7 separate regions of the Homo sapiens genome follow, and regions 1, 3, 4, 5, 6 and 7 are each linked to region 2. The links are contacts of gene promoters, found by promoter capture Hi-C in blood cells and fetal thymus (Javierre and others, 2016). All regions are on one chromosome and are shown on one strand. Each heading gives the region's core, a stretch centred on a gene start or on the middle of the fragment in contact. The rest is flanking DNA. Distances are from core to core; before and after follow the strand shown. Region 1 has its middle 19 kb from the start of CEP295. Region 2 holds the start of ANKRD49 (ankyrin repeat domain 49). Region 3 overlaps CEP295 (centrosomal protein 295). Region 4 overlaps CEP295 (centrosomal protein 295). Region 5 has its middle 13 kb from the start of MED17. Region 6 overlaps MED17 (mediator complex subunit 17). Region 7 holds the start of SNORA25 (small nucleolar RNA, H/ACA box 25).

What was found. Contacts are between HindIII fragments. The CHiCAGO score rates a contact against its expected background, and 5 or more counts as called.
Region 1: a contact is called between a fragment that was not itself captured here and the fragment with the promoter of ANKRD49 in region 2, in 4 of 17 cell types (total CD4 T cells, naive CD4 T cells, naive CD8 T cells and 1 more). The highest score is 7.2, in total CD4 T cells.
Region 3: a contact is called between a fragment that was not itself captured here and the fragment with the promoter of ANKRD49 in region 2, in 8 of 17 cell types (megakaryocytes, total CD8 T cells, total B cells and 5 more). The highest score is 8.4, in megakaryocytes.
Region 4: a fragment that was not itself captured here is called in contact with the fragment with the promoter of ANKRD49 in region 2 in 5 of 17 cell types (total CD4 T cells, naive CD8 T cells, total CD8 T cells and 2 more); the score reaches 6.9 in total CD4 T cells.
Region 5: a fragment that was not itself captured here is called in contact with the fragment with the promoter of ANKRD49 in region 2 in 1 of 17 cell types (M0 macrophages); the score reaches 5.7 in M0 macrophages.
Region 6: a fragment that was not itself captured here is called in contact with the fragment with the promoter of ANKRD49 in region 2 in 16 of 17 cell types (total CD8 T cells, naive CD8 T cells, naive CD4 T cells and 13 more); the score reaches 22.8 in total CD8 T cells.
Region 7: a contact is called between a fragment that was not itself captured here and the fragment with the promoter of ANKRD49 in region 2, in 13 of 17 cell types (naive CD4 T cells, total CD8 T cells, total CD4 T cells and 10 more). The highest score is 14.0, in naive CD4 T cells.

The regions. Positions count from the first base shown.
Region 1 is chr11:93,641,263-93,644,300 of GRCh38, forward strand. No RefSeq gene overlaps it. Among named protein-coding and RNA genes, the nearest start is that of CEP295, 19 kb to the right of the region's middle. The HindIII fragment of the contact is 6,443 bases long and covers 1-3,038 here.
Region 2 is chr11:94,492,734-94,496,108 of GRCh38, forward strand. ANKRD49 (ankyrin repeat domain 49) reads left to right here and starts at 1,251. Exons shown (of 3, transcript NM_017704.3): 1 at 1,251-1,302. It overlaps MRE11 (MRE11 double strand break repair nuclease), which reads right to left and starts at 1,111. Exons shown (of 20, transcript NM_005591.4): 1 at 1,058-1,111; 2 at 49-173. The coding sequence starts at 68. RefSeq lists an enhancer at 1,461-1,550. The HindIII fragment of the contact is 5,313 bases long and covers 1-3,123 here.
Region 3 is chr11:93,699,418-93,702,652 of GRCh38, forward strand. It overlaps CEP295 (centrosomal protein 295), which reads left to right. Exons shown (of 30, transcript NM_033395.2): 15 at 1-769; 16 at 3,043-3,220. Among named protein-coding and RNA genes, the nearest start is that of SNORA25, 30 kb to the right of the region's middle. The HindIII fragment of the contact is 676 bases long and covers 1,355-2,030 here.
Region 4 is chr11:93,679,765-93,683,140 of GRCh38, forward strand. All of the region lies in intron 7 of CEP295 (centrosomal protein 295), which reads left to right. Among named protein-coding and RNA genes, the nearest start is that of CEP295, 20 kb to the left of the region's middle. The HindIII fragment of the contact is 3,806 bases long and covers 1-3,267 here.
Region 5 is chr11:93,769,657-93,772,878 of GRCh38, forward strand. No RefSeq gene overlaps it. Among named protein-coding and RNA genes, the nearest start is that of MED17, 13 kb to the right of the region's middle. The HindIII fragment of the contact is 3,035 bases long and covers 1-2,768 here.
Region 6 is chr11:93,787,748-93,791,067 of GRCh38, forward strand. MED17 (mediator complex subunit 17) reads left to right here. Exons shown (of 12, transcript NM_004268.5): 2 at 254-420; 3 at 2,827-3,046. Among named protein-coding and RNA genes, the nearest start is that of MED17, 5.1 kb to the left of the region's middle. The HindIII fragment of the contact is 216 bases long and covers 1,545-1,760 here.
Region 7 is chr11:93,727,993-93,731,160 of GRCh38, forward strand. CEP295 (centrosomal protein 295) reads left to right here. Exons shown (of 30, transcript NM_033395.2): 25 at 689-829; 26 at 1,442-1,538; 27 at 1,622-1,789; 28 at 1,878-1,977; 29 at 2,057-2,156; 30 at 2,239-2,366. The coding sequence ends at 2,277. It overlaps SNORA25 (small nucleolar RNA, H/ACA box 25), which reads right to left and starts at 2,654; the gene lies at 2,521-2,654. It overlaps SNORA32 (small nucleolar RNA, H/ACA box 32), which reads right to left and starts at 3,107; the gene lies at 2,987-3,107. It also overlaps a transcript of TAF1D not described here. The HindIII fragment of the contact is 1,275 bases long and covers 839-2,113 here.

The DNA.
Region 1 (3,038 bases), core at 244-2,743, 850 kb before region 2:
GATGTAGGGTTGTTTGGGTTTTGTTTAAACAATCATTGAGGACACAGTGTCTATAATTTATTTTACATCTTCTGCACAAAGCAGCTTCTCGGGGATTATTCTTCACAGACTAACTGCAGATAGAAGTAAAAGAGAAAAGTTGTAAGAGACACACCATCCAGAAAATGAAGATGATGAAAAAAATTCTACTGATAAGGACCTTGACAAGAAAGCTGGAGAAAGGCTTTAATCTATGGATTTCTGGTAACCCTGGAAACCGGCACCTCTGAAGCACTGGGATAAAAATCCTCAAAGGACTGGGATGAAGATTAGTAACATCATTAGATAGATGGCAGACAGAGCCCTTTGAGAAATAAATCAATACCCATACAGATGCAGAATACCAATATAGGAACCTTCCCCCACCAGGTGATGCCCCGTGGCAAAACACTGTGGCCATGTCCTAGGTATACCAAACATCAGTGGCTTTGACAGATGATGTGGCCCTGCCATCTTGCACTTTCACCCGCCTGATCCAAACTCTAAGCACCAGCAGTCCAGGCCGTGCCAGAGGCTGAAGGAGCAGCACTACATGAAGAAAGATCACTGGATTGGGTATAGAGAAACTAATTAGGTAAGTCACTTAATCCCTCTGTCAGTTTCCACATCCATAAAATGGGGGATAATAAACCTGCACTGCCTCCATCATAGGCTTTTTGAGTATCAACAAAGTTAATCCACGTGAAAGTGCTTGGGAAATCATGAAGGCTGATGATAAATTATAACTAGTGTTACAATGACTAGTTTTTTCCTGACCATGCAGGCATAGACACCTGAGACCCAGATTCACAACTATCTTGAAGAAAAGTGGTACAGGGGCCAGGTGCGGTGCCCCACACCAATAATCCCAGCACTTTGGAAGGCTGAGGCAGGCAGATCACCTAAGGTCAGGAGTTCGAGACCAGCCTGGTCAACATGGCAAAACCCCATCTCTACTAAATACAAAAATTAGCCGGGTATGGTGGCAGGCGCCTGTAATCCCAGCTACTCAGGAGGCTGAGGTGTAAGAATAGCTTGAACCCAGGAGGCAGAGGTTGCAGTGAGCCGAGATTATGCCACTGCACTCCAGCCTGGGGGATAGATCAAGACTCTGTCTCAAAAAAAAAAAAAAAAAAAAAAAAAAAGAGAAGAAAAAAAAAGAAAAAGAAAAAGAAAAGAAAAGTGGTACAGTACTATGCAGAAGCCACCAGCAGCTGGGCTGCTTGAATTGTTTGTCAAGCTGGGTGCTCATAAATACAGGTTATTTAGAAGAGACTAGAAATAAACCAGGGAAGGGCCCCTAACAAAACAACTCCCCTACTGGCAAGCTGCATTGCCTCATATTGCACCATTACGGCAGTCTTTTCTTAGTTGAAGCATTGTCCTTGGGAAGATTTTAAATGCAAATTTTCCTAGGAAGAGTAACATATTGACTGGTTACCAGTCATTTATTCTGAGTTAGTCTATTCACAGATTCCTCAGGTAGTGCTCTTAAACAAGGAAATTAAACGGTAATTTCAATAGTGGGAAAAAGATTTGGGACACTGAGACAGGCCTTGAGAGGCAAATCTGGGTAGTACATGTATTGAGTGGGATGCAAGACGGCAGAGGAGGCACAGTTTCCAAACTCGTGAGATGAACACTAAATAAAGGAGCGGTAAAGACTGCTGAACCAAACTCACTTACACTTTTTCTCAAGGTCTAAAAGGGGAAGAATTGGATCCTGTGCTTCTTTGCCTAATCCAAGTTCCTGTTTGCACTGATTCTTTGTCTTTTCCTCTAGGTAGCAGAGTTTACCTTGATATTGCTCCAAGTAATAGAAAAACAAAGCTAATTTAACATTCTTGATTATTTCTCCTCATATATCACCATTTATCCCAGACAAGTAGCTATCTGCAAGGCTCTCCTAATGGGTTTTTTAAATCAAAAGTTCTTTAAAGTGGGTTGGAAGGCTTTTAATATAAATTAAAAGCCTTCAATATAAATTATTGGACTCATATAATAAGTCCAATATAAATTGGACTTATTATATAAGTCCAATATAAATTATCTATTTTAAGAAAGAAGTACTCGATGTCCAAAAATGATCCTCTTAAGGCCATAGACCTGGGAAATGTTCTAGAACCCTCACTGGTATAACATGCTGCCTCAGTTTCCCCAGGGTGATCAGTGTGGAGAGCAGAAAACAAGGCAATGAGGGTCAGCAAACACCAGATGGACAGCTCACACTACTCAGATGGACCCTAACAAGCTGTGTTCCCAAAGTCTGCACATTTGTGAACCTTTAAGCCAGCCAGCTCATCCATGTCCCAGCTAGCACCTATCAGGGAACACAAACTGCCCAGGGTGTCCATACAGTCCCACTTGATCCCACCCTTGCTCCGAATCCCTGTGCTCCTCAGTTCTGGTGGATTGTAGCCTTACTGGTCTTCCCTTTCATTTATGGCCCTGCTGTCATGCATTGTACTTGACCCCTGAATTTTGATCCCAAATGTGTTCCTCAAAACCCTCGACTCATTGCAGTAGACTAGATTTACTTGCCACCAAATATTCTGATTCTCCTTTCTGTGAGGATTATAGAAGCCTTCCCTGTTGAACTCCAGAGTAGCTAAGGCTGACATGGCCAGTGAAAAGTGAGAAGTGCCACTAGGAACCAGAGCATGGCTTGCCATCTCTTTTCCCCAGGTCTCAACAACAGGGAATGCTTCAGGAAGAGACTGGCCTATCAGCCTGGACTCAGCACAGAGATGTGGAACACAGCTGCAACTGGCCCATGCTGGAAATAGGAGTGAGAAATAAACTTTTATTGTTATAAATATTGATATTTGGGAGTCTCATTCGTTACTACAGCATAACTGATTCACACATCCTTGAATTCCTACCACATACAGCAACTTCATACAGACAGACTGCCAGGTTTGACTCCAGCCCCAACACACCTTGATCTTCAGAGAGGAAAGATAGGCCCAGGGAAAAGCATTGTGATTTTTGATGATTTCAGCACCTGGGTAGTGGTATGT
Region 2 (3,375 bases), core at 1-2,500:
GCTTTAGAAACCCCAAATAACAAGGGATTCCAGAAGTCAGGTGCTTACAGTGCATCTGCAGTACTCATTTTTATGGTCAGTCAAGCTCCTCTGGGACCAGGTTCTTCTCCAAGAACCCCTGGGTACTGTACTCAAATGTCAGAAAATGCACTCGATTCCAAATTCTAGAAATTCTAAAAACAAAATTACATCATAAAACACATTTTTTAAAAGCCTGCACGTATTTAACCAACATGATTTACGCTGCACAAGGTACAGACGTCTTAATTAGACTGGCAAATTTAGAAGTCTCATTTTCATCTAAGCACCCACTATACTTTTTTTTAATGAACTGAGCATAGAAAATAATATATCTCCAGTGTACATCCTGTTTCCTAGTTTCACCAAGATGATTAAACTCCTATTTTCCTTTCCCGTGCTCTTATGGGAAATTAATGTATGCTAAATAAATGGGCAGAAAGGGTCACATACGGTTCTGGTTCAACACACAAACAACTCTAGATGTGCAGATATTTTTAAGTTGCACGCATAGGTTACTCTGGAGAACAGAGGCAATCCTGTATTTCCTATTCAAACCCCACGATTTTTTTTAAAGGACCTGGCTAGTTTGGAAAAGGGAACGGGCCCGCGTTTAAAGCGAGTGTAAATAAACAAACACGTGGTCTGCGGAGGAACACCTTTAAGCACCAGCAGGATGACTGAAAATAGCCAGGTTTGGGGAAGAGTGGCTGCCACCGCGAGACAACCCCCACCACATCTGGAGCTCCAGATTCCGTCGGGATTCCAAGCCTCAACACGCCCTCACCGCAGGGAACCTCGGAATCAGAACGCTGAGCCCGCCAGGACCCCTCCCCTGCCCACTCGGCCCGCTCTTCCCGAGGTTCCAGTTAACTCTGGGCTTCCGCCTGGGAACCTGCAGAAACAGGAGACGAATGCGATTCCTAAATTACCCCACTGCTGGACTCTTCGAAGCCCCACAATCGCGACCCAAGGCTGTCTTCTTTTCGGGAAGAAAGGGCAGGATCCGTGAAAAGAAAACAACACGGTCTGAACTTGCCTCTGAGAACCCGCAGGGCCGTAAACCTGAATTCCGCGGGAGAGAACGGCGTCCGTTTCTCTCGCGACACTTCATGGATAACGTAGATGCTTCAAGTCCAGTTCGGCTCTCATTGGCTACCGCACGCAGTGAGGGGGCGGGGAAAGTAGCGGCGAGGCCCCGCCCTCACGCAGGAGCCAATCCTGAGCAGGCTAGGAGACGAACCCGGAAGTGAGATGCAAGGCGGCGATTTTCCCTTCTGTCAGGTGGGTTGTTATTCCCTGTCCCGGACCTCGCTTTTTGATGGACCGGCGCCATCTAAGAACTCCTGAGCCCGTGGGGGTGGGTAGCCTGTGGACACAGGCCGAGCCCTGCAGGTCAGGCCGCTTCGTGGTCCCCAGGTAGGACCGAAGCCGCTTCTCCGCTCTTGGCTGTTTGGAAGGCCGCAGGCGGAGCTCACGGGCCTGTGAGCTCCCGGCTGGTGGCAGAGTGCCGGAGCTGGATCCCCTCTCCCTCCCTCCCAGTCGCCAGACCCTCTACAGGTGTCGCCCCTAGGTCCTTGAGTTCAGCACATCTGCACTGCTTTGTGCTGAGAGCAGTAAGATGTATAGTGCAGCGAAAAATAATGTAGAACTTTTGAATTAGAACGTCTGCCCTTTCAGTTCCATTGAAGGGTCCTTGATCTAGGGCAAGTTGTTTTAATCTATCTGAACCTCCTTCACCAGTAAGGTTTATAGCCCCGCCTATCACTGAGTTGTTTGTAAGGAGTTGACATAGTTCGGATCTCTCTCAAAATAGGATATGCCCTTTAAGTTAGGAAACATACCCTGACATTCCTGATGGAATATCAGGAATATCATCATCAAGTCATCAGTTTTGTTTCTTAACTGTAAGTCGGGTAGATGCGCCTAGGCTTGGCTTTTTAAACTAAATATACCAGTAAAATTTTGTACATAATTTTTTGTATCTGGATCTGTAAACTCAAAATTTATATAAAGGGAGTTTTTATTGAAAGGAAAAGCATGTTGGGGGAGAGGGTAAGATCTGTGGTATAAGGTTACTATATTTGATATAATTACAAGTGAACTTTTATTTATTAGCATCTGTTAAGTGTTTAATGAATTGATGTATGGTCATTTTTGTGTTGCAAGGTTCAGGAATTAGTTTGAGAATCAAAGAAAAAGTGGAAGCTCCAGGAGAATTAATAAAACACAGAGCAATTCTGATTGGATATCTCTGATTCCAAGGGTGTCTCTGATTGGGTGACTGAAAAGCCGGATTGGCCTTAGGAATACTTTAGTAAAATTCTTACATTTTACAATAAAGTAACAGGACCAGAAAAGTTACTGGACATGAGTAATACATTTAAACTTGAGTTTAGTGCTATTGCCACTAGTAATAAAGTTTAATACCACATTAAGATTGTATACTGTTAAACTTGTGAGATTAGGTATCAAGAAATCAGTATCTTGGGGTTATGCCTAACTCTGGAACTTCTCAGAATCCATTCCAGGCAAAATCAAGTGACAAGACTTTAATTAAATGTAATGCTACACATACTTCTTAATGCCTTCTATAGACAAGTAGGAGATAAATATAAGTTAAATGTGGTCCTTATCTTTCAGCTTATAATCTTTTAAGGGGCTAAAACAAGAACAAAGTTAGAGGTGAAATGTAGCACCAAAAAAAGTAGAAAGCAGAAAGCGATCTAAATGAGAGGATCAAGAAAGAATGAAAGAGATAACATCAGAGAAGAGCCTTGAAAGACTGATTATATTTCAACAAATAGAGTTGAGAGGCTGGGAATTCGTATTTGTAAATTATCTATTGGTTATTCTCCTTTTCTTTAATTGATTAAGGTTTATATGTTGTGTAACCCTTTAAGCTGATATTGGTTTAAAAATTAATATGGCAGCTTAGCAGAATAAACATCAGTTCCTTCAGGAAGCCTTCTTTAATCCCTTAGGACTAGGGGAATTATGAACCTCCTGTATACTCATGGTTTCTAGACAAGGTCTTGTAGTAGTACTTATCATGTTGTCTTTGCCAGACACATGATGTCTTTGCCAGTCACCTACACTAGAGTAAGCTTCCTGAGGTGAAGACATGGATCTTGCTCATTATTGAATCCCAGTACCCAGAAGTTGGCACATACCAGACATTCTATTCATATTAGTTGAATGAAGGAATGAATGACAGCCAAAATTCAGTTGAAAACAAGGACCCAACTAAGAACTATAGTTGCCTATCAATAAACAGGACTACTTTTTAAAGCAGTGAATTTTCCTAGGCCTGAAATTATCAAAGTAGAAATAGGATAATTAGTGTAGATGCTGTGA
Region 3 (3,235 bases), core at 443-2,942, 790 kb before region 2:
TGGTGATTTGCAGGCACTTCAACAGCAGTTAGATACACAGAAGAAAGCCATTCGATCTATACAGGAAGTCCAAGAAGAATTGCTTTTGCAAAGATTAAGTGAATTGGAGAAAAGGGTATCATCTGAACAAGTTTGCTCCTCTTCATTTGTATCCCAGGTGCCTGTTGCTGACTCTGAAAGAACCCAGAAGTCTTTCCCAACCAAAAGTAATGATACTCTTCCCTCAAGTCATCGTGAGATTCCAAGATTACAGGATAGACTTTTGAGTTTATCAAAGCCTATTCTGCCTCAGCAAGATAATATGACAGCACAATTGGATGCACAAAGGGAAGTGATGTATTCTTATGAGAAACCCCAGGAAGAACTGTCTTTAAACAAACAAAGAAAGTTGAACAAAAGTGAATCTGCTGAGCATACTATCCCCTCTTTGTTTCTACCCAAGGAAACAGAGCATTCGTTTATTCCACTACCTTTTGCAGAAGCTAAACCTAAAAGCACTTGTGAATTGTATTCATCCCAGAATGAACATGCAGCCCCCCCAAGTAATCCTGTGATCCCAGGGTTTCAAGATAGACTTTTGAGTTTTTCACAGTCTGTCTTAACTCAGCAAGATAACTTGGGACTTCAGAAACAGTTGGATCTACAAAGAGAAGTTCTGCATTATAGCCAGAAAGCCCAGGAAAAATTGCTTGTACAGAGACAAACAGCATTGCAGCAGCAGATACAGAAACATGAAGAGACTTTGAAGGATTTCTTTAAAGACAGTCAGGTATGTTTTAAACCTGAATAATAATGAAACACTAGAAGTTTAAACCCAAATCAGTTTTTAATACTAGGATTACAAGTTTTCAGTTATTGAGAAAAAGTAGTTTGACCTTAACTGTGCTTTGATTTTTCACCCTAAATGATGTGGAAGTTAAAACAAAAATCGATCCACCCACATGGTGTTTATGAGGTTAATAGTTACGTGAAGTCCAATTAATTTTTTTAAATTTTCTTTTGTTTTTGCTTTTTTTTTTTTTTTTTGAGACAAGGTCTCGCTCTGTTGTCCAGGCTGGAGTAGAGTGGCACCATGTCGGCTCACTGCAACCCCTACCTCCTGGGTTTAAGTGGTTCTTGTGCCTCAGTCTCCCAAGTAGCTGGGATTACAGACATGTACCACCATGCCTGGCTAAATTTTGTATTTTTTTTTTTTTAATAGAGACAGGGTTTCCCCATGTTGCTGGGATTACAAAGTGCGGGGATTACAGGTGTGAGCCACCACACCTGACCCAAAGCTCAATTAATTTCACCTGCAAACACACCACAAAACAATGTAGATTCTTATTTTAGAGTTTTGTTTTAATGTATTTTAAGCTTACCATAAGATTTAAATTGTAAAAATAACTGGTTAGCAGAATTTCTCTTATGCAGCAACAGACATTGTGCTCTTTGTTGACATTTATATACAAATCAAAATCAATACCATCTTTTTTCTCAAGTGACACTATTATGGTTTGTTGTAAAACGGGCATGATTTTAGGCTGATGTAGAGCTGGACCTGCTGCTTTTATCTGAATTGTTCATAAGACTCGGCCCAGTGACTCATTCATAGTTGCCCTATCTGGGAGACAAGGGTATGTTCTAAATTTGAATGTATCTGTTTTATTTTAAAAGGCCAGTTCTGCTGGACATGGTGACTCAGGCCTTATAATCCCAGCACTTTGAGAGGCCGTGGCAGGTGGATCTCCTGAGCCCAGGAGTTCAAGATCAGCCTGGGCAACATGGCAAAACCCTGTCTCTACAAAAAATACAAAAATTAGCCAGGCATGGTAGCATGTACCTCTAGTCCTAGCAACTCTGGAGGCTTAGGTGGGAGGATGACTTGAGCCCAGGAGGTTGAGGCTGCAGTGAGCCATATTATGCCACTGTACTCCAGCCTGGGCGATGAGGGAGACCCTATCTCAAAAAAATAAATAAATGAAAGGCCACTTCCTAAATTTATTATTTAGTCTAAATAGAATTCTACAAATCCTTTGATGTCGAGAAGAAGCTTGAGTTGGGTTCAGGAAGAGTTAACGTCAAGAGATTTACTGGTCATTTAAAGGAAAAGTAATGGCAAAAGAAAAGCAGAGGGAAATACTCAAATATAATCTCTTATGGAAAGATGAAATGGAGGCTAAGTTTTTTTTTGTTTGTTTTTTGTTTGTTTGTTTGTTTGTTTTTGAGACGGAGTCTTGCTCTGTCACCAGGCTGGAGTGCCGTGACGTCATCTTGGCTCACTGCAACCTCTGATTCCCTGGTTCAAGCGATTCTCCTGCCTCAGCCTCCCGGGTAGCTGGGATTACAGGCATGCACCACCATGCCCAGCTAACTTTTGTATTTTTTGTAGAGACAGGGTTTTGCCATGTTGCCCAGGCTGGTTTCAATCTCCTGACATCATGATCTGCCCAACTCGGCCTCCCAAAGTGCTAGGATTACAGGCGTGAGCCACTGCACCTGGCTGTAGGCTAAGTTTTTAAGTCCAAGGCTGTGAATGGTTGTTGTTTTTGTTGTTGTTGTTGTTGTTGTTTGAGACGAAATCTTGCTCTGCTGCCCAGGCTGCAGGCTGGAGTGCAGTGGCACGATCTTGGCTCACTGCAACCTCTGCCTTCCAGGTTCAAGTGATTCTCCTGCCTCAGCCTCCTAAGTAGCCAGGATTACAGGCATGCACAATCACGCCCAGCCAATTTTTGTATTTTTAGTAGAGACGGGATTTCACCATGTTGGCCAGGCTGGTCTTGAACTCCTGACTTCAGGTGTCCTGCCCACCTTGGCTTCCCAAAGTGCTGGGATTGCAGGCGTGAGCCACCGCGCCTGGCCGAATGGTTGTATTTTCAATGGAAATATCCTTTTGGCATTAGAAGCATATCTTATTTTTTATATATAGATAAAATTTTGTGATTGATGGAACTATTTATTTGGTTTACGTTCTAATTTAAGAAGGGAGATATAAATCTAATGAATAATGCTTCACATGATCCCCCAACTTGTGCTTCCCCACCCTCATCTCCACTTTTTCAGATAAGTAAGCCCACAGTTGAAAATGATTTAAAAACCCAGAAGATGGGGCAGCTCAGAGACTGGTTTCCTAATACACAAGACCTAGCAGGAAATGATCAAGAAAATATTAGGCATGCAGATAGGAACAACTCTGATGATAATCATTTGGCTTCAGAAGATACTAGTGCCAAGCAAAGTGGTAAGATAATTGTGT
Region 4 (3,376 bases), core at 115-2,614, 810 kb before region 2:
AATTTTACTAATGAATTTATTAAAAGTTTAATATTTTAATATGTCCAAAAACAGCCTGAGGAAAAAAATCACTTTCCTGATTATTTCAATAGCATATGTGCTCTATAAATTTGAGGATTCAGTTCATTAAATTTGTATTGAGCAAAGCACTTGTTGGCTTTGCAGAATGTTGTTTCAAAAATAAAGTCATGATCCTTGCTACCGGAGCTTTTAAAAAGTGACAGTCAATAGGCCAGGCATGGTGGCTCATGCCTGTAATCCCAGCACTCTGGGAGGCCAAGGCGAGCAGATCGCATAGGCCCGGGAGTTTAAGACCAGCTTGGAAAACATGGAGAAACCACGTCTCTACTTAAAACAGAAAAATTAGCCAGGCATGGTGGTGTGCGGCTGTAGTCCCAGCTACTCAGGAGGCCAAGGTGGGAGGATCACCTGAGCCCGGGACAAGGAGGTTGCGTTGAGCTGAAATCACACCATACCACTGCACGCCAGCCTGGGCCACAGAGCGAGACCCTGTCTCAAAAAAAATTAAATAAAAAGTGACTGTCAAGTCCAGTCGAGGTAGCTCAGGCCTGTCTCAGGCCTGTCATCCCAACACTTTGGGAGGCCAAAGTGAGCAGATGGCTTGAGCCCAAGAGTTCAAGACCAGGCTGGGCAACATGGTGAAACCCTGTCTTTACCAAAATTCCAAAAATTAGCCAGGCGTGGTGGCCTGGGACTACAGAGTCAATACAGTCAGTCCCAGTTTGGGACTGTGTTGTGGCCTGGGACCTCATTTCCCGAGAAGGCTGAGGTAGGAGGATTGCTTGAGCCTGGCAGGCAGAAGCTGTCATGAGCCGAGATTGCACTATTGCACTCCACCCTGGTGACAGAGTGAGATTCTGTCAATCAATCAATAAATAGTGACTGTCATCAATATGTAAAATATTGTAATGAAAGCTGGCTTTATAGTTTTAGCTTAACTTCTGTCATGCTTATTGTTCATTTAGTGCTTAGTCTTAAAATATAGCATAAAAATGATTCATCTTATTAGAAGTCTGATTTTATTTTCTGAATTTGACTAATGCATTTGGATTTTTTAAATACCCATCTTAGGAATGAGTTTTTAAGTACTTCTTAAAAATGCATTGGAAATTAAATTTTCTTATGAAAGGTTATTTTTATAGTTTGAACTAAATCATGAGCTTCTCCCTTAAATTTTTAGCTTTCATAAACTAGGAGTGAATTATGACTAAAATAACTGAATGTCTGAATTATTATCAGTAATTCTCCCCATCTAAGGTTTAAACCTATAGTAAAACAGACACAAAAAGCAGTCATAAATTGAACAGATTCTTCCATAAAAGCAGTAATGTTTAGTAGTTAAGCAAGTGGGCTTCACAGTCATTCTGCCAGGATTTATCTGTCTTCTTCACCACTCAGCTGTTTGATCTCAGGCAGATTAGTTAACCTCTCTAAGTTCTGTTTCATGTGTTGTTTTTTTTTTTTTTTTTGAGACGGAGTCTCACTCTGTCGCCCAGGCTGGAGTGCAGTGCTGGGATCTTGGCTCACTGCAACCTTCACCTCCCGGATTCTAGCAATTCTCCTGCCTCAGCCTCCTAAGTAGCTGGGACTACAGGCTCGCGTCACCACACCCAGCTAATTTTTTTTTTTTTTTTTTTTTTTTTTTTTTGTGACAGAGTCTTGCTCTATCACTCAGGCGGGAGTGCAATGGCGTGATCTTGGCTCACTGCAACCTCCACCTCCTGGGTTCAAATGACTCTCCTGCCTTGGCCTCCCAAGTAGCTGGGACTACAGGCACATACCACCACGCTTGGCTAATTTTTATATTTTTAGTAGAGACAGGGTTTCACCACGTTAGCCAGGATAGTCTCGATCTCCTGACCTCATGATCCGCCTGCCTCAGCCTCCCAAATTGCTGGGATTACAGGCGTGAGCCACCATGCCCAGCCCAAGTTTTTTGTATTTTTAGTAGAGACGGGGTTTCACCATGTTGGCCAGGCTGGAACTCCTGACCTCAAACAATCTGCCTGCCTCGACCTCCCAAAGTGCTGGGATTACAGGTGTGGGCCACCAAGCCTGGCTGTTTTTTGTTTTTGTTTTTTTTTTTTAACCTCCCCTGCCACACCTCTCCTGATCATCTGTTTTGTGAGGATTCAATGAGTTTTCCAAAGCCCTTGGAAATGTGCCTGGAATTTCATAAGCTCAGTAAATGTTAGTGGTAGTGGTCATTGTTATAAATAATCCAAAAGGAATAATATACTAGCTTGCAGTGAGCTAGAATAGTACACTTACTCAAACAACTTTAGATAATTAGAATCTTAGTATAAATGAAATAAGTTCATTTATAATTTTCCTTTTCAGGACATGGCAAAAAAAATTCATCCTCAAAAGACAAAATAGTTAAAACTTTACAAAAGAATAAGTAATGTATATATGTTATCACTTTTTAATTTATTTTTATTTATTTTTTATTTTTTGAGACAGTGTCTCACTCTGTTGCCCAGGGTAGAGTTCAGTGGCGTGATCTTGGCTCACTGCAACCTCTGCCTCCTGGGTTCAAGCAATTCTCCCGCCCCAGCCTCCCGAGTAGCTGGCATTTCAGGCGCATGCCGTCACGCCCTGCTACTCTTTGTATTTTTAGTAGAGACGGGATTTCGCCATATTGGCCAGGCTGGCCTCGAACTCCTGACCTCAGGTGATCTGCCTGCCTTGGCCTCCCAAAGTGCTGGGATTACAGGTGTGAGCCACTGTGCCTGGCCCATTACCATTTTTTTAATGCAGGATTTCTCTACGTTATAGTAGACTTAATGTTCCTTATATAAGAAGGTTGTTAAAAAAAAAAACCGTGCAATCTCACTGCTAATAGAGGATTTCATTTTTCCTGTCTGAACCTTTTTGCTGCATACTGTATTGTGGCCTGGGACCTTATTTCCTTCTAGTGTCTATATTAACTAATATTTGACTTCTACCTGCTTCTCCAGTTTTATCTTCCTTCCCTAATCATCCTTGCCCTCCATGCCCTAGCTATAATGAACAGTGTGCTATTTTCTGAATATCCCGTGCCTTCATCTCCATACTGTTGTGCTGCAGTTTTTTTCTTACATGTACTCATTCTCTTTCAGCCACTTTTGTCTGGCTAAATCCTTATCCCATCCCAAGGAACAAGAAGTCTTGCCTTGTTCTCCCTCCTTACCTTCTACCACCAAAATTCCATTAGATAACCTCATTAAAACACTGATTAAACTTTCATATTAGCCATACTCTTTAAGCTTAAAGAAATACATTCAGATCTCCTTTAATAATGGAAATTCATAAGAGTGTGAGGTAACAAGAAATATTCTATGTTAAGCCACAGTCACCCTGGGTCTTGGTGCTT
Region 5 (3,222 bases), core at 1-2,500, 720 kb before region 2:
TTGCCCAGGCTGGAGTGCAATGGTGCAATCCTGGCTCACTGCAATCTCCGCCTCCCAGGTTCAAGTGATCCTCCTGTCTTGGCCTCTGGAGTAGCTGGGACTACAGGCATACACCACCAGGCCCAGCTAATTTTTGTATTTTTAGTGGAGACGGGGTTTTGCCATGTTGGCCAGGCTGGTCTCGAACTCCTGACCTCAGGTAATCCGCCTGCCTCAGCCTCCCAAAGTGCTTGGATTACAGGCGTGAGCCACTGCACCCGGCCAGTATTGCCCTATATTGTACTGTACACTGTTAAATTAAGTTTAGCCTAAAAGCTGCCTCCTTACATATTTTAAGTTTGGCCTAAAAGTTTCTCCATACCTAGTGAAATGTAATCTAACTGGATGTGTAAATGGACTTGTGAAAGGAAAATAAATCTTGGAACCCCAAAATCACTAAGCCAAAAGAAAAGTCAAGCTGGGAACTATGTCAGACACCTGCCTCCCATTTTATTCCTAAATAAGACAGCTACAAAGAGAAGAAGCTATATACCTCCCTCACAATTGTCCACAATACCTTGTGGACAAAGGACAGACAGAACTCAAAGTCATCCCTCTGAGGCTCACCTGAGACAAATGCATATCTGATTGTTTTCTCTGCCCTATTGTTTATGTAAAAACAATATGCACAGTCACTGAGCCAGACTAAATTGTGTATTCAGTGGAAGGCTGATCAAGGACTCAAAAGAATGCAACCTTTTCCTTTTATCTCTTATCTACTTCTAACCTGGAAGTCCCCACATAGAGTTGTCCTGCCTTATCTGAGGGAACCAATGTGTATCTTACACAGATTAATTGATGTCTCATGTCTCCCTAAAATGTATAAAACCAACGTGTGCTCTGATCATCCTGGGCACATGTTGTCAGGACCTCCTGAGGCTATGTCACAGTGCATCCTTAACCTTGGCAAATTAAACTTTCTAAATTGACTGAGACCTGTCTCAGATATTTTGGGTTCACAGACTGTTACTCTTGTAACAAGTAGCCAAGTCTCAACCAATCACAGCAGCCATACTCCAACCACTCACAGGCGGCCAACTGTTCGAACCACCTTCAAATAAGGCAAATGCTGAGCTGTAACCAATCCAGCTGTTCCTGTACCTCCCTTCCATTTTGTGTAGGCCACTTTCCTTTTTCTGTCCTTAAATCCTCTCCAACCATCTGGCAGCACTGGAGTCACTTCTGGACCTATTCTGTTCTGGGGGTTGCCCAATTCAAGAATTGTTCTTTGTTCAATTAAGCTCCGTTTAATTTGTCTAAAATTTTTCTTTTAACAACATGTTAAAGGAAACTGAATATCATAACAAGAGAAATTTACTAAAGAATACATGGGCCAGGCACAGTGGCTCACACCTGTAATCCCAGCACTCTGGGAGGCTGAGGTGGGCAGATCTGTTAAACCCAGGAGTTCGAGATCAGCCTGGGCAACATGGAGAAACTCTGTCTCTACCGAAAACACAAAAAAATAGCCAGATGTGGTAGTGCATGCCTGTAGTCCCAGCTACTTAGAAGGCTGAGGCTGGAGGATCGCTTGAGCCCAGGAGGCAAAGGCTGCAACGAGCTGAGATCCTGCCATTGCACTCCAGTCTGGGTGACCAGAGTGAGACCTTGTGTGATGGTTGATACTGTCAACGTGATTGGATTGAAAGATGCAACGTATTGTTCCTCAATGTGTCTGTGAGGGTGTTGCCAAAGGAGATTAACATTTGAGTCAGTGGCCTGGGAAAGGCAGACTCACCCTCAATGTGGGTGGGCACCGTCCAATCAACTGCCAGTGCAGCTAGAAAAAAAGCAGGCAAAAGAAGGTGGGAGAAGCTGACTTGCTGAGTCTTCCACCCTTTATCTTTCTCCCGTGATGGATGCTTCCTGATCTCAAACATCAGACTCCAAATTCTTCAGCTTTTGGACTCTTGTACTTACACCAGTGGTTTTCCAGGGGCTCTTGGGCCTTTGGCCACAGGCTGAAGGATGCACCATCAGCTTCCCTACTTTTGAGGTTTTGGGAGTCAGACTGACTTCATTGCTCCTCAGCTTGCAGACGGCCTATTATGAGACTTCACCTTGTGATTGTGTGAGTCAATACTCCTTTATAAACTCCCCTTCATATATACATCTATCCTATTCTGTCTCTCTAGAAAACTCTGACTAATGTACCTCATCTTTAAAAAAAAACAAAAACACAAACAAACAAACATGAATTTGAACTTCTGGTGCTGGCCAAGATGGAATAAGCCTTGGCCAGCACCAAGACTTAGCACAACAACCTGTTTCCCACACAATTACAAAATATAGAACTTTGCATGAAAAAAAGCATCCCTTTCAGAACAGTTGAAAATTAAACAATGGGCTGGGCATGGTGGCTTATGCCAGTAGGCCCAGCACTTTGGAAGGCCCAGGTGGGAGGATTGCTTAAGCCCAGGAGTTTTGTTACGGGATCTTTGGGGTGTCACTTTTCTGGCTGGAAACCTGTGGCTGGTAGTGCCTTTGCTTGAGCTTTGTTCAGGCACACTGGACTCATTCCACCCATTCAGCCTGGCAGGCTGTGCTCAGCTCATGCTACTGGCTGGGATCCCATGCCTCCAAGAAAGACTGTGAGTCAGGCATGGAGAGGTGAGGGGTATCTGAGCAAGTATGGGATCCAGCCACTGCACAGTCAGACATGCTGGCTGCACCAGGTGCACTACAAGCTGCTTCCCCAGCTGGCATTGGGGAATGCGGTGGTGTCCGGAAGCTTGGAGACATCAGAAACTGCAGGGCCTCAAAGAGGGAGTCACAGCCCTGGCTCAGGGAGTTTCCAGGTCTGGCCTCCCCAAAGGGCTGCCGCTCTTCTTCTCTCCACCCACAATGTGGTGAGCAAGGGGCATGTTTCAGCCCTGTTTGTGTTACAGCTCTTTTAGTCTTGCCTTTCAGCGAGTCCCAAGTTCTTGTCCTGCAACCAGGAAGAATGAGGTATGCAGACAAGTGAAAGGTGAGCAAGATGAAAAGGAGCTTCAATGAGCATTAGAACAGCTCAAAGAAGACCTGCAGTGGGCAGCTCCTTTCCATAGACAGGGTGTCCTGATGAGTGTTCAGCTCCTAGCAGAGAGGGTAGCTCCTCTCTGCAGGCAGGTCGTCCCAACAATTGTTCAGTTCTCAGCAGAGAGAGTAGCTCCTCTCTGCAGTGGGTTGTCTCGCCATCTGTAG
Region 6 (3,320 bases), core at 403-2,902, 700 kb before region 2:
TGAGTCTATAATGTTGTAATGATAAATTTAACCTGTGGAAATAGATGTCATATTCATTTTGCGATTGTAGGAATGCTAATGTGAATGTTAACAAAGTTTTAAGAAACGGTAGAGGAGATGGCATAAATAAGAGAACAATTTGAAATTTAATTAATTATTTCTCCTTTTAGTACTTTTTAAACCTAAGTGAGCTGTCTGCCATTCAATGTAACGAATACTTCTGTATTTCTTTTTTTTCTCTCTCTCTTTTTAGGAGTGGTAAAATTTCAGCCTTCCCTTTGGCCTTGGGACTCAGTGAGGAACAATTTGAGAAGTGCCCTGACAGAGATGTGTGTTCTCTATGATGTTCTCAGTATTGTTAGGGATAAAAAATTTATGACTCTTGATCCTGTCTCTCAGGATGCACTTCCTCCAAAACAGGTATTTGTGGACTTTAATTGAATAATAAAATTTTATTTATTAAATCCCAGGACCCTTTTTTGGCTTTGTGCCTGTTGTTCCATTTTCCTTTCTTGCAAAATTAAGTCCAGATGAAGATTTAAAGACTAACTGGTCTAAAACAAAGCCATACAACTGCATTTCCTTTATTTTTTTATTATATACCTATGATCCTTGGAAGAGTTAAGTTTCATTAAGAATGTAATACCTTTAAGGCCAGGCGTGGTGGCTCACGCCTGTAATCCCAGCACTTTGGGAGGCCAAGGCGGGCAGATCACGAGGTCAGGAGATCGAGACCATCCTGGCTAATGCTGTGAAACCTTGTCTCTATTAAAAATAACAAAAATAAGCCAGGCGTGGTGGTGGGCACCTGTAGTCCCAGCTACTCAGAAGGCTGAGGCAGGAGAATTGCTTGAGCCTGGGAGGCGGGGGTTGCAGTGAGCTGAGATCGCGCCACTGCACTCCAGCCTGGGCGACAGAGCGAGATTCCATCCCAAAAAAAAAAAAAAAAAGAATGTAATACTTTAAAGGTTACCAAATCTTAACAAATTCTTATAGCCTGGGTCCTTGGTCTGTGATATATTACACAAAAATGTGATGATATAATGGCTTTGGAATCAGGTAGACCTGGATTCGAATCCTGCCTCTGCCTTCATTAACTGTGTGACCTTAAATTAAGCAAGTTATTTTCTCTTAAGTCCCTGTTTTTCCATCTAATCCTTCCTTCCCTTTTTTTTTAAGGGATGGATTAGAAAAGTTAGGCGAAATTATGGAGCATATTGAGAGCTGGGTAGAATTGCTGCTATTTCATAAACAGTGTATTCAATTTTTGAACATTTGAAGATGAAAGAGAAGTAGCAGGAAGATGAGTTGGTGAATAGTCTGAAATCATTGAGGCTACTTGGGTCCTTAAGGAAAACAAGTGTCAAGACCATAACCAAATTAGTCATGGAGAAGAAGTAATGACTGTTAGAACCCATTTGTAAATAAAATTAATTGAATAGAATTACTCACATAGTAATAGTTTCAGAATCTAGAAACATTGTGCTGGGGGACTAATAGAGTTCCCTAAATCTGCATTCTTCATTTTATAGAGAGAAAACTAAAGCTTAAAGAGATTTGTAATATGTTCAAGTTGCTGTCAAGCCAGTAGTTAGGGAGCCAAGACTAGAACTCCAGCACCTAACTCATAGCCCCACTGCCTTTTCTACTATTCTGTGCTTTTCCCAGAAGGGAGTCTCCAGGAATTTCTTAATATCTCCAGGAACTCTTTTATTTACGTTCCCTAATACAATCAAAAGATTATTTTGATATGTTTATGAAGCTTTTTATGTGATTTTTGACTCTCATACAGCCAGAAAACTGTATTAAACTGGTTAGTAAAATACACAAATTATGGTGATTGTGGATATTTATATATGCATATGTGATACATAGATAGTGACTTCTGATCAGTTTTCCAAAAAATTAGGATTCAGTGAAGTACATTTAATATTAACAATGGCAGGGCACGGTGGCTTATGCCTGTAATTCCAACACTTTGGGGAACCAAAGCAGGAAGCCAGGAGTTTGAGACTTTCCCAGGCAACATAGCAAGACCCTGTCTCTACCAAAAAAAAAAAAAAAAGCCAGGCTTGGTGTTGCACATCTGGAGTCCCAGCTTCTCAAGAAGCTGAAGCAGGAGGATCACTTGAGCCAGTAGGTCAAGGCTATGGTGAGCCAAGATGGTGGTACTGCATTCTAGACTGGGTGACAGAACAAGACTCCATCTCAAAAGAAAAAAAGTTAATGCTGTGTGATTTTAGTCCTAATTCCAAAAGCACTTTAATAGCTTATGGTAAGATGCAAAATATGGTAAGCTACAAAATACAAGATAATTTTACAGTTATACCCATTGCAGTCATTCATTCATTCATTAAATCAAATATTATGTGCCAGGCATTGTTCTAGGGTTTGTGGATATAGTGATTTCTGCCATCATGCAGGTTACCATTGAAGCAGAGATTATAGATGTTAATCAGAAGTATAATGAGTGCCAAAAAGGTTATATATAACTATATGTGTGTATGTACAGGATAGGGGGCTGGCAATATATAAGGAGAGGAATGGCAGTACATTAAGAGGGGACCCTAACAGGCTGGACAGAGTTGATGCAATGGTAAGTTCTGAGTAGAGGCCATTGTAGTGTTTTTGGTTTAACATAAGTAAAGCTTTGAGTGAGTTGGACAAAGAAATAGGTTAAGGTTATTATTTTATTAAAAACACTGTTATGTGTACTTGCCCCTCCTTTTTGCTTTTTGTTCACTTCATTTTATTATTGATAAAATGTGTAATTTTAGAGTCATTTAAAAATCCTGCAGAACTGCATGTTTGGGTTGTTTTTGACAGAATCCTCAGACGTTGCAATTGATATCTAAAAAGAAGTCACTTGCTGGAGCAGCACAAATCTTATTGAAGGGGGCAGAAAGACTGACTAAATCAGTTACCGAAAACCAAGAAAACAAGCTACAAAGAGACTTCAATTCTGAGCTTTTGCGATTACGGCAACACTGGAAACTTCGAAAAGTTGGAGATAAAATTCTCGGAGATCTGAGCTACAGAAGTGCAGGTATGAATAATTATTAAAAACTATACTTTCTGGCCAGGTGTGGTGGCTCATGCGTGTAATCCTAGCACTTTGGAAGGCCAAGGCAGTTGGATCACTTGAGGCCAGGAGTTCAAGATGAGCCCAGGCAACATGGCAAAACCCTATCTCTACCAAAAATGCAAAAAATTAGCCAGGCGTGGTAACACGCACCTGTAATCCTAGCTACTTGGGAGGCTGAGGCATGAGAATTGCTTGAACCCAGGAGGTGGAGGTTGCAGTGAGCCAAGATCGCACC
Region 7 (3,168 bases), core at 226-2,725, 760 kb before region 2:
CCTGAAAAATGGTGGTTCTGCCTGTGCTTCAGCACTTTCAGTGTTGAGCCTCATTCCAGTGCAATGAATTCATCCATTATTGGAATAAGTATTGGAAACCTGCTCCTCATATTAAGCAACTTATAATCTGCTTGCTTTCAACACCAGTCAACTGGTGACTGGTTTTCATCTAGCAGTATGTGCAGTTTATCCTTCCACAAATAAACATAACAGATTGAAAATAAGAATTACAACTAAACCACGTTTTATGTGGCTGCTTTTGTTCTTGTTGTGTTTAGATACTTTTGAAACATTATCTGTTAGCAGTCAGTGGCCCACATTTGGTAGCAGCCCAGTCGACCCCTGCTCCCTTTAAAGGATACAATTCGGCACAGCCAACCTGCATTTATATTTTTTGCCCAACACTACAAGCATTTAGGTTTGTAATCATTGTGGTAGATACCTTTCAGTCCATTGTCACACTATTTCATCCCCTCCCCAAAGTAGGCTCCAGTATTTCTACAACTGAATGCTGGAGTTATGGAAGCCTAAGGAAATCTGATCTGTTGGTCTTTGCCAATCATTGCTTTTCTTCCTCCATTTTCACATTTATATACACTTGCAAAAAATGTGCATTATATACAAAACGATTAGTTTAAGTCTTTTAAGGCTATTTTGACATGGTTTTCCTTTTAATTGTGGTTCACAGGAAACAGAAACTGGCCATGGTATAATGGAAGAACCAGAACTTACTTTAATAAGCACCACTGATACCAGTATTGCTGAAATGGATTTTGCAAATTTAACCCTAGAAGAGAAGAGCGAGAATGAAGCAAAATGCTTCTTTCAGGTAAATTTAAGCTTTCCTTCTATTTTATTCTATTACAAGCAAACCAGTTGATTTGTCTCTTACAACTTATCAGAAGGTACTCATTGGAGGGAATTATGCTATGCATTTAACTAAGCCGACACCCCCACCAGCTCTCAATTTGTCTTAAACCTTCACTATTCTGTCAACCATTGTGCATTTTCTTTTAATCCCCACTCCAATTTATGCCTGTCTCCAAGACTGGCAGAACTAATCTTATACACCTAGTGTTATAGTGCCAAGTTGGAAGTTTTACCTAAACTTATTCCCAGATATTGAAAAATGACTTCAGAACAACTGGTAATTTTACTAGGGGAGTAGGGAGGCAATAAGAATAAAGCTATCTAAACAGAGGCCTAGAGGTGTGAGGGCAGTGGAGCCTAAGCCCAGTTCAAGACCAGCCTGGGCAACAAGGCAAAACCCAATCCCTACAAAAAATACAAAAATCAGGCATGGTGGCGGGTCTCTGTAGACCCAGCTAAGATTGAGGCTGCAGTGAGGTGTGATCATGCCGCTGCACTCTAATCTGACAGCAGAGCAAGACCCGCTTAAAGCGTTTAAAAAGAGTAAAACATGCAACTTTCTTGCCATTAGGTGAGTGAGTTTCTGCCTCTTGTATCAGCAACAGAAGCCTCAGATTATCCAGCTGTATCAGAACTTTCCATAGAAAAACCAAGGACAGCATCTACAGGTAAGCCTTGGACGGCCTCCACACTTCTAATGGAAAGTAGATACTTTGCCTATTTCTGTCATAAATTTCTTTTCCCCCAGCAGAAACCCCTCGCAGGCTTACACCTGTACCAGGGAGCTTACAAGAAGCATTTATAAAGAGGAAAAAATCATTTATGGAGAGATCCCACCAGAGGCAGAAAGAAATAAGGAATAAAATTCATGTCTCTGAAAATTCTCAAATCAAAACAGTTAAAGAGAAACCATCTATAAGTATGTTGAATTTTTAAAATCTTCAACCAACTCCCTGAAATGTTTAAAGCCTTGTGTTTACAACTTGATTTCACTTTTCTTTCCTCAGGTTCATCTGTGAGTCGTCTAAAGGGCGTGAATAAAGTCAGAGCATCTTTTCCTGAAGACAGAAAGACTACACAGGCTCTAAGGCACCAAAGGGGTCTAAGGTAGGGTTAATTTTTTTTTTTTTTTTAGTGATTCACTTTTTGCAGTGTTTGTCTCTAATTCTATATAAATTCTTTACAGGTTATACAATCAACTAGCTGAAGTGAAACAACAAAAGGAAGAAAAAACAAAACAAGAAGCTTATGCCCAAAACAGAGCAAGGGCAAAAGAATTCCATAAGGTGAGTATAACTGAGGGAGAAGGACTTAATTTTTCAAGCATGAAGTACACAACTGAAACTCAAATTTTTATTCCTTCCACAGAAAACACTAGAGAAACTTCGAGCCAAAAATACATGCTGACTTTCTAGAAATAGTGTAAAGGTTTTTTAATTGTGTATATGTAGCATTAGACAAAATTATTTAAAGTCAATAAATTGTTATTCGAGGAATTCCATGTTGTGATTTCTTCCACTGTCCATCAAGGTCACTTTAGATCCTCTAAAGAGCTGGAGTCAAAAGATTTATCTTCAAGTTTGCCCTGAAGAAGAGAAATTTTGATTAACCTTTAAAACTCTCACATGGCAACAATCCTGGATTATTACGTTTTATATCTCCTCAGGAAAACATAGCACCAAACATTAGGAGTGCTATGGCTTCCTATAGAGAACTTCCATCTTTGGTCACAGCGTTAAGAGCTCTGGGTTTCACAGCCTCATAAGCCCTCTTTGAAATGACCCATACAAATGTCTTTTCTAATGCATACATACCTTTTTAATGAAACTGATCCAGTTGTCCTGTCAGCCCTACATAACAATAGTATAAAAGTAAATTTTACATTTCCAGAGATGAGTGTACAGTGAGTGAACATGAATGAGTCCCTAGAACGAGCCTGAGTTAACTCTACTACAAACTGCTTGGTTATTAGCAACCCACAAGGGTTACAATATAAAGGCAAAGCAAATTTGCATGATTCAAGAGATCTAGGAGAATTTTCAAATCTCACTGATTTTAAAGAAAAATCACATGTGGTTCACATTTTATTTGTATTGCATTTCTATTACAGTTAATCAACTGTTCCCAATAAGCTGATTGCTAGCAAAGTAGCAGATAGAAAACCTACTGGGAAATTTTTTTATGGTCATGTCCACAGCAAATGAGAAACTGCATTCTAAAAGCCTTGGTAATGACCATTACACCCTTGAGCAAATAACTTATAGTTAAGATAAAAACCATTACTTGCCATAATTACTT